Linked DNA regions of Homo sapiens: regions 2 and 3 are each linked to region 1. The links are contacts of gene promoters, found by promoter capture Hi-C in human tissues and cell types (Jung and others, 2019). All regions are on one chromosome and are shown on one strand. Each heading gives the region's core, a stretch centred on a gene start or on the middle of the fragment in contact. The rest is flanking DNA. Distances are from core to core; before and after follow the strand shown.

Region 1 (3,095 bases), core at 247-2,746:
CAGGGAATGGAAAGAAATACACAGGGAGGCCAGGCGTGGTGGCTCACTGCCTGTAATCCCAGCACTTTGGGAAGCTGAAGAGGGAGGATTCCTTGAGGTCCAGAGTTTGAGACCAGCCCAGACAATAAAGCGAGACCCCTAAGTCTACGAGGGAAAAAAAAATACAGGGAGAGGGAAATGATCATTGGAATAAATTGTTTCCTTGTTGAATGTAATGACCGCGCACTACACCGATCTAAGGACAAACACAGTGCACGGGGAAATCTGCAATCCTGGGCTGGAAGAGCTAGTTTCATGGGAACCCTAATTCCTTGACACTTGCAATTAACCAAAGATATGCACATGCCTAAAACCAAAACCTGGTGTGAATGAGGGGAAGGGAGGAGGAGGGCTGCATTCCCCAAATTCTCTCGCTATTATTTTCTTTTAGTGTTGATCTTCCAGACTGGCACAACTCACATTTCAGGGCACTGAAAGCCAGCTCATAAGACAAACGCTGAAAGGACTGATCCTCAGACTCGGACAAGGACCGCAGGGGTTCATTCCCATACTTGATTAAGACTTTCTGTGCCGACTTTTCGATTCGAATACCCTGAAAAATGTTGGCTGCCATGACATAAACGGAGTCCGGATAGCCCGTTTTTTCGGGCACACCAGCTGAGCTTTTCCCACCGGACAGAGGCAGGGAAGTGAGTTGGGAGATGATCTCGGGATCTTCTTCGTTCGAAAACTCCAGTTCGCCCGTGGAATTCAGCATGTCTGCCCCTCGCCTGTCGTGAGTCCTTCACCCTGGGGTTAGAATTCCGATGTTCCAGGAAACGGCTTTCCTCGCATCTGCAGCATGGTCTCTGTGAAGAGAGAAGGTGATTGCAGTAAATCACTCTTTCTGCAGCACCCCTGTGGGTGGCCCCCTTCGTTGTGGCCTTAAAGACTAAGAGGGAGCATTTCCCGTCCCATCTGAGTGTCCCAGACTTCGAGCCTGGGACGCTCAAAAAAAAAAAAAAAAGCGAGGAGGGGTGCAGCGGCGGAGGGAGAAGAGCCCCAAGGAGACCGACGGCTTCCCTCAAGCCAGTCTGGGGGCAGAGCTGCCCCCGGAGCCCCGTCCGCGTCCCCACAGCCCAGTCACCGGCTCCCCCGACTCCTCCCTTACCCCGAGGGCGGATGGTTCCCGGGGCTTCGGGGACGAAGACGCGGAGGGCGGCGTCGGTCACAGGCCCTTGGGAGCCCCGGGACTGCGGGGCGACGGCTGCTGCCCGCGAAGGCCGTTTGGTTCAAATGCAGCCACTCCCACCGGCAGGATTCGGGGCAGGGGGGTCGCAGCCTCTGGCGCCCGGTTCGCTCCGGTGTCGTGAAGTGGTGGGCGCCTCGGGGCCTCGCCTGGCCTCGCGCGTGAGGCCTTCGCGGACGTGGCGGCGAAGAGGGGTGAGCGCGGTGCCCGGGGTCTGGCTGGCTCAGGCCGAGGAAAGCTCAGCCTCCCGAGTCTCCGGCAGTCGACTGCTCCCGGACCGGGTCTTCATGGCAACCGCGAGCGGAGGTGGGGCAGGGGGCGCGGCGCGAGGGCCGTTCCCGCGGGATTTGGCGGGTGCTACCTGTTGCCGGGAGAGTCGCTCTTCCCCCAGCGCGCGGAGACACCTGTTTCAGCCCCTCCGAGCCAGAGGCCTCTTGCACAGTTCCTGGACCTCACCGGGCCTGAGTGCGTGCCCTTGGCTTTGTTTATAAACATTTGGGGATATTTTTGAGGTAGTCTGACGTAGTTCCGTGGTTTTAACTCACAAGTTCCTGAAGTCCCTGTTAAAACTACACATTCTTTAAAATATTTTTAAAATATAGTAATAATTTTTTTTTTGAGACATGGTCTCGCTCTGTCGCCCAGGCTGGAGTGCAGTGGCGCAATCTCGGTTCACTGCAGCCTCCTCCTCCCGGGTTCACGTGATTCTCATGCCTCAGCCTCCCGAGTAGCTGGGACTACAGGCGCCCGCCACCACACCCTGCTAATTTTTGTATTTTTAGTAGAGACAGGGTTTCACCGTGTTGATCAAGTTAGTCTCGAACTCCTGACGTCAAGTGATCTGCCGGCCTTGGCCTCCCAACGTGCTGGGATTACATGCGTGAGCCACTGCGCCGTCTGTAATAATTTTTTTTAATAACAGAGACAGGGTTCCCATTATGTTGCCCAGGGTGGTCTCGAATTCCTGGGCTCAAGGAGTCCTCCCTCCTCGGCCTCCCAAAGTGCTGGGATTTCAGGCGTGAACCACCGCCTCCAGCTAAAAAAAAATCCTTGGAACCCATCCTAGAGATTTGAGTTGCTAAGACCCAGTAATTTGCATTTTTATCAGGTAACTGGCGATTCTGATGCAATCAGCCCAAAGACCACAGTTTGAAAAACTCTGGTATAGTTGAAAGACAACTGGTCCTAATTCCACCTCTGCCTTTCCTCCTTAGGGATTTGCCCTTCCTTCTTTAGGCTAAGGCCATTTCCATTTCCAGCCAGTGGTTAGTAGGATGAAGGGGAAAGAGAGGGCAGCCCATATTTTTCAATGACCTGAAAGGTGCACATATCACTTTGGCTCACATTTTATTGGTCAGAACTCAGTCATATACCCAGCAACCAAGAGGCTGGTAAATGTGTCCAGCTAAAAATAAGGGAACTATTACTGTAGAAGAAGGAGAGAATGGATAATGGGGAAAAAATTAGCAGTACAGAACTCTAACCCTGACCCCTTCTCTCAGAAATCCACCCACTTTCATTATCCCCGGAATACGTTAAACATTCCGTAACATTTTATGTATACATGCATTCATTCGTTCGTTTAACAAGTATATATTAAATTCTTGCTGTGTCCCTGGCATTGTGTTCAGCCCTACAAGTAAAATAATGAATGTATAGAAATGATCAGACACCTGACCGGGCGCGGTGGCTCACGCCTGTAACCCCAGCACTTTGGGAGGTCGAGGCGGGCGGATCACGAGGTCAGGAGATCGAGACCATCCTGGCTAACACGGTGAAACCCCGTCTCTACTAAAAATACAAAAAAATTAGCCGGGCGTGGTGGCGGGCGCCTGTAGTCCCAGCTACTCAGGAGGCTGAGGCCAGA
Region 2 (3,095 bases), core at 337-2,836, 890 kb before region 1:
CCCCCAAAGCAATGGCTGCCCACCTTCCCTTCAATCCACTCAAAAGGAATGTGTATAAATGTGTGAGTGCCTCTCTCTGCTCTCCAGATGTTGGACAATTTAAGTCTAAGAGAACTAAACTGAAAAACTGTACTTGTAACCTGTCTTCCCCAAGAGTATTCTAATAATCTGGCTGCACAGAAGGACTCTTAGCTGAGGTTTCTATTAGCATGGATATGACAAGCCATTGCATAATGCTGCCTCCATGTATTCAGTGGAGAATGTTGATTTCAGCAGCTGTGGCTTCTAGAAAAAATAAGCTGGGCCAGGTGTGGTGGCTCACGCCTGTAATCCCAGCACTCTGGGAGGCCAAGGTGGGCAGATCACTTGAGGTCAGGAATTCAAGACCAGCCTGGCCAACATGGTGAAACCCCTTCTCTACTAAAAATACAAAAAAAAAAAAAGAAAAAAGAAAAAAAATTAGGCATGCTAGCACACGCCTATAGTCCCAGCTACTAGGGAGGTTGAGGCAGGAGGATGGCTTGAACCTGGGAGGCAGAAGTTGCAGTGAGCTGAGATTACATCACTGCACTCCAGCCTGGGTGACAGAGCGAGACTCTATCTCAAAAAAATAAAATAAAATAAAGAATGAAAGAAAAGAAAAAGAAAGAAACTGTAGTCCTCGATAGAGGAGAAGGGCTGTGATTTTTCATCTATTTTAGACTATTGATTAATGGTATCTAAGAAAGATTAAGAAATTTGCAGGATTAGGTAGAAAAGTCTAACCCATGCTTTTAAACTTCATGGATCAAAATTCACTTAAGCAGGCCTTCCAGAAAGACACAAAAATTCGTCCCATTCTTCCTCTCACAGTTTAAAAAAAAAAAATCTTACTTTTAAAATATTCAATCTAGTCAGTTCATCTTTTAAGGTGATTTATAATCTTTGCTAAGATCTTAGAAGACTTAAACCTCTCTGAGCTGGGACCCTCTTACCATCCCACTAAGTAGTTTGTAGATTATGGGAGAGAAAAGAGGTCCCTTCATTCAACTCTGCCATCTATAATATCTACAGGTCAGAATTTTGGTTTAGGCCACTATGGGTGGCCATAGATCCAGGTTTTCTTCTGGGACCCCAAGAAGAAAATGGCAGCCTTCTCCAGGATCTGGGATTTGATTATCTCACCCAATGGGCATGGAGAAAATGAGAGCAGACCTTAAGAATTACCTTTGTCTGTCCTGCGTTCCCATCTCTACTCCCACTGTGAAGCTCTAACTAGCTCAGCCCAAATGTGGCCAGAAGCCAGTTAGTTAAATAAAAGGAGAAACTCGTTTGCCCTTTCATGTACCAGGAAGTACATGGTTGAACATCCCTAATCCAAAAATCTGAAATCTGAAATGCTCCAAACTCCAAAACTCTTTGAATGCTGACATGACCCCACAAGTGGAGAATTCCACACCTGACCTTGTGTGATGGGGTGCAGCCAAAACTTTGTTTCATGCACAAAATTATTTAAACTATTGTATAAAATCACCTCCAGTCTATATGTATAAGGTATATATGGAACATAAATGAATTTCATGTTTAGACTTGGGTTCCATCCTCAAGATACTTCACTATGTATATGCAAATATTCCAAAATCTAAAAAAGTTCAAAATCTGAAACACTTCTCATTCCAAACATTTTCTATAAGGCAGGCTCAACCTGTATGATTTTTTTTCTCAAGATTTTTTTTTTTTAAGAAATATCAGCAAACTGGCCAAAAAAGAAATAACAAACCTATGAGTGATATATTTATGCCATTTTCAAAAAAAAATTAAGAAGTTGAGAATTGATAATACTAGAAAGAAAATGGGCTGAGTTGTCATTCAGAACATGTTCCCTAGTTCAGGTTAGACTTGGCCTCCCAAATGAAGAGGTGTGTGTCTGGGGATGGGGGTTGGCGGATATGGGATCCTGGAGATGGCCAGCTTCCAGAATATTAATGTGACTTGGACTAATCCTGTGCTCCTCAGTACCTACGTCTATGCCCTTGGGCTGTTGGGATGAGGGCTCCTGGCTGCAGAGTCCAGGAGTCTCCCTTGGTGGTGGGTTGGCATTTTTGAGGGCCGGGATGGAATTACCCCAAGGGCCTGGAAATTGTTTCTGGGCCAAGTCTACCGTAAAGGAATTCAGAATAAAATGGCCTATGGCTCTCACAACGTACCGACTCCTTTGGTGGGCCAGGTATTGGGAGGGAAAGAGTGTGAAAGTGAAGAAAAGGGCAAGAAGGTGAAATTAAATCTATGGAAACATTCTTGGCTGGTTAGGAGGTGGAAATTTCTCTGTTTGCCTGTGCGGTAGGTCTGCCCCTGACCTATATTCTCCTTAAAGGGCTCATCTTTTTTTTGATTGGGCTCTATTTTAAGAATGTGTCAATTATTAATAAATATAGCCTGTGCCAAAAAACTGCCTTTAAAGATTTTGGAAAAAGGAGATATTAAGGGAATAAACTAAAAATAGTATAAGTTTCTATTTTAAGAATAAATTCCTGATATCAACTTTTCATTTTGTTCCCCACATGGTTTCATGTAAATTGTATCTGCTCTAAGCAGGAAACTCAGCACTTTGGATATCCCTAGATAAGAGCTCTGGAAAAAAAGCTCCTTTTACTCTTCTTGGTCCCTGGGGCTGCATTTTGTAAACTTAGAGAAGGCAAGAAGGGAGTCCCTGTCCCCACCCCTTTTAAGAAATCATTAACTTTTCCTGTGGGTGAAGTTTTGTGTTCAGGTGAAGGCAAAATTCAGAAACTCTTTAATTTCCCTTCCTTTCTTTCACCTTTCCCAGGGGTCTATTTTAAGCAAATTGTATAGCAGCCTTGCATTGATGAAGAAGAAATCCATTCTATCAAAATGTTTTCGCTCACCAAACCAAAGTAGTGTTTTGCCTGTCAATCTTATAAAATCCTCCTTTCAGTGAATGTTAAATATTGCCATTGCAGGTTTGAAAAGTAATAACCAGGGCTCAATTTTACAGACTACTTAACTCTGTGCAGTCAGTCAAGCTCAGGCTGAATTTGGTTTTGAGGCATGAGTGTTCTTTATGTCAGATCACACATGGGAAACTTGGCCCTGGA
Region 3 (3,095 bases), core at 195-2,694, 570 kb after region 1:
ACTTTGCAGGTTTCAGAGTAGATTTTTTTTTTATTGTAGTAGATATTGCCAAATCCACTCCAGGGAAGTCCACCAGTGATGTATGAGAGTGACTAACTATCTGCCTGCATTATCACAACACCAGATGTTAGAAATCTTTTTAGATTTTATCAGAAATTTTTTTAGTTTTCTAGTTGAAAAGTGGTGTCTTGCTGATTAATTATTATTGAGATTCAACATCTTTTCACATATTTACTGGTCATTTGTATTTCTCCTCTAAAATGGCATATTTATATCTTGTGCCCATTTTTTTCTATTGAATATTGTTATATCAGTTTAGAAAAGTTGTTTGTATATGAAAGATATCAATAATCTGTTTATATGTTACAGACATTATCTCTCAGTCATTTGTCTTTATTTTATTTATGGTGTCTTTTGCCATGCCCAAGTTTTTAAGTTTAGCAATTGCTTAGAAAGATTTTACCACTCTAGGCCAGGCGCGGTGGCTCATGCCTGTAATCCCAGCAGTTTGGGAGGCCGAGGTGGGCGGATCACCTGAGGTCAGGAGTTCAAGACCAGCCTGACCAACATGGAGAAACCCTGTCTCTACTAAAAATACAAAAGTAGCCGGGCGTGGTGGCGCATGCCTGTAATTCCAGCTACTCGGGAGGCAGAGGCAGGAGAATGGCTTGAACCCAGGAGGTGGAGGTTGTCGTGAGCCAAGATCACTCCACTGCACTCCAGCCTGGGCAACAAGAGTGAAACTCCGTCTCAAAAAAAAAAAAAAAAAAAAAAGAAAGGCTTTACCACTCTAAAATGTAAACAATATTTTCCTATAATTCATGATTTATCATTCTTTCAAAATTACATTGCAATAATATAATGGTTAAGAGCACAGTCTCTGGCACCAACCTGCCCAAGTTTAAATCTTGATTATGCTGTGTAACCTCAGGAAAATTATTTAATTTCCATGTGCCTCAGTTTCCTCAACTGTTAAATGGGGATAATAATAGCCTCTACACCTCTTATGGCTGTTGTGAGGATTAAATGAATTAGTACATACCAACTGCTTAGCACCCTCTTGCAACACAGAAGATTTCAATAAACATTAGCTACTATTAGTTTTGCTGTGACTCAATGGTAGTTTTCCAAAATGTTTTTCGTTTGTTTGTTTGTTTGTTTGTTGAGATGGAGTCTCACTCTGTCGCCCAGGCTGGAGTGCAGTGGCTCGATCTTGGCTCACTGCAAGCTCTGCCTCCCGGGTTCATGCCATTCTCCTGCCTCAGCCTCCCAAGTAGCTGGGACTACAGGCGTCAGCCACCACACCCAGCTAAATTTTTTTGTACTTTTAGTAGAGTCAGGGTTTCACCATGTTAGCCAGGATGGTCTCGATCTCCTGACCTTGTGATCTGCCCGCCTCGGCCTCCCAAACTGCTGGGATTACAGGCATGAGCTGCTGCGCCCAGCCTCCAAAACGTTTTAATATCTACTAGGACCCATAAATAAATGCTCCACAAATACATCCATTCCTTATAATGGTCTTATGCTTTCTGCCACCTGCTGCTATCAATAAAAATGAAAAATCGGCAACCACAAAGACAGAAAATGAGAAGGGCAGTGTCACACTGCAAATCAAATAGAAGTACCAGCTGCAAAAACTCAGCCAGGTTTAAGCAAATACAAGAACTTGAGGCAGGGAGTTTCAACTGTGAGTCTTGCCCTGACAGAGCTCTCCGACAGCAGCTGCACTAAGCATGTCTTATCCCATGGAAGGCAAATGTGTGCTCATATTGAAAGGAAGTTCGTTCCCTACACATTTCGCATGTCTCAAGGAAACTGTGCAGACGGAGTCTGTTCAAACCTTTCCAAAACTTTGTTTTGTCCTGGGCAACTTATTTCGTTATCTAGAGAGCTGGATATTGTCCTTGTTAAGCATGGTAGCTGGAAGACCAAGAGTGGTGATTGTTTTTTACAATGATAAAGTATGCCCACGTTAATAATCATTGAAATCTACCAGAAAGGTACATGCTGCCCAAGTACCACTAGTTACAATTCTTCAATCTCTTTCATATCTGTGAGTACCTTTCTTGTGCCTAAAGATGAAGGTTTTTCTTTTCTTTTTTTTTTTGTTTTGGTGGCGGGGCGGGGGAGTAGTCTTGCCGGAGGTTTTCCTACAACATTTATATATCTTAAAGGAACAACTTTTGATTTTACTTGCTAACTCTTGCTTTATCATTATTTTCCAATTTATTCATTTCTGATTCTATCCCATTTGTGTTGACACTGACAGTTGAGAGAAAGGTAAAGATTGTTTTTAGATTGTACACATTTCTGAGCAAAGAATTCATCCTCCTGTTTTGTTTTGTTTTGTTGGGTTCTTTGTTTGTTTGTTTGTTGGACCCAGTCTCGCTCTGTCACCCAGGCTGGAGTGCAGTGGCATGATCTCGGCTCACTGCAACCTCCGCCTCCTGGGTTCAAGCGATTCTCCTGCCTCAGCCTCCTGAGTAGCTAGGATTACAGGCACCTTACTTTCTACTTACTGTTTTTTTGTTTTTGTTTTTTTCTGGTTGCTTAAGTTAAATGCCTCATCTTTCTGTTTTCTGTTGCTCTCATTTCATAACAAAAGCATTTATTTGAGACTATTTTATTCAAAGGACAGAGTGAACCCATGCAGGCACCTGGGCTATGTAAGATTTGTGAAAATAAAGTTGCTGTCCCCTAAAGAGCCCTGCATGTGAGATGACTGCAGAGAAGATGGAAGAACATTAGAGCTGGGAGCAGCCGTAAAGAGAGCCAAAGCCTTACACTCTACAAATGAGGGATCTGACACTAGAAAATGAGAGCATTTGATACTGAAAATCAGATATCCTCACACGGAGTCTGTGCTCTAGTTGAGGTAGAAGTCTTTATTTTTTTTCTTCTTATTTATTTTATTTTTTGAGACAGAGTCTTGCTCTGTCACCCAGGCTGGAGTACAGTGGCTTGATCTCAGCTCACTGCAATCTCTGCCTCCGGGGTTTAAGCAATTCTCCTGCCTCAGCCTCCAGAGTAGCTGGGATTACAGGCACCTGCCACCATGCGCAGCTAATTTTTGTATTTTTAGTAGAAACGGGGTT

What was found. Contacts are between HindIII fragments. The study calls those that stand out against the background at their distance.
Region 2: a contact is called between a fragment that was not itself captured here and the fragment with the promoter of NSUN7 in region 1, in 1 of the 25 tissues and cell types used here (lymphoblastoid cells).
Region 3: a contact is called between a fragment that was not itself captured here and the fragment with the promoter of NSUN7 in region 1, in 1 of the 25 tissues and cell types used here (lymphoblastoid cells).

Annotation. Positions count from the first base shown.
Region 1 is chr4:40,748,356-40,751,450 of GRCh38, reverse strand. It overlaps NSUN7 (NOP2/Sun RNA methyltransferase family member 7), which reads right to left and starts at 1,496. Exons shown (of 12, transcript NM_024677.6): 1 at 1,151-1,496; 2 at 460-848. The coding sequence starts at 757. The HindIII fragment of the contact is 15,367 bases long and covers 1-3,095 here.
Region 2 is chr4:41,640,086-41,643,180 of GRCh38, reverse strand. All of the region lies in intron 14 of LIMCH1 (LIM and calponin homology domains 1), which reads right to left. Among named protein-coding and RNA genes, the nearest start is that of LIMCH1-AS1, 51 kb to the left of the region's middle. The HindIII fragment of the contact is 7,085 bases long and covers 1-3,095 here.
Region 3 is chr4:40,177,439-40,180,533 of GRCh38, reverse strand. It overlaps a transcript of N4BP2 not described here. Among named protein-coding and RNA genes, the nearest start is that of RHOH, 18 kb to the left of the region's middle. The HindIII fragment of the contact is 6,789 bases long and covers 1-3,095 here.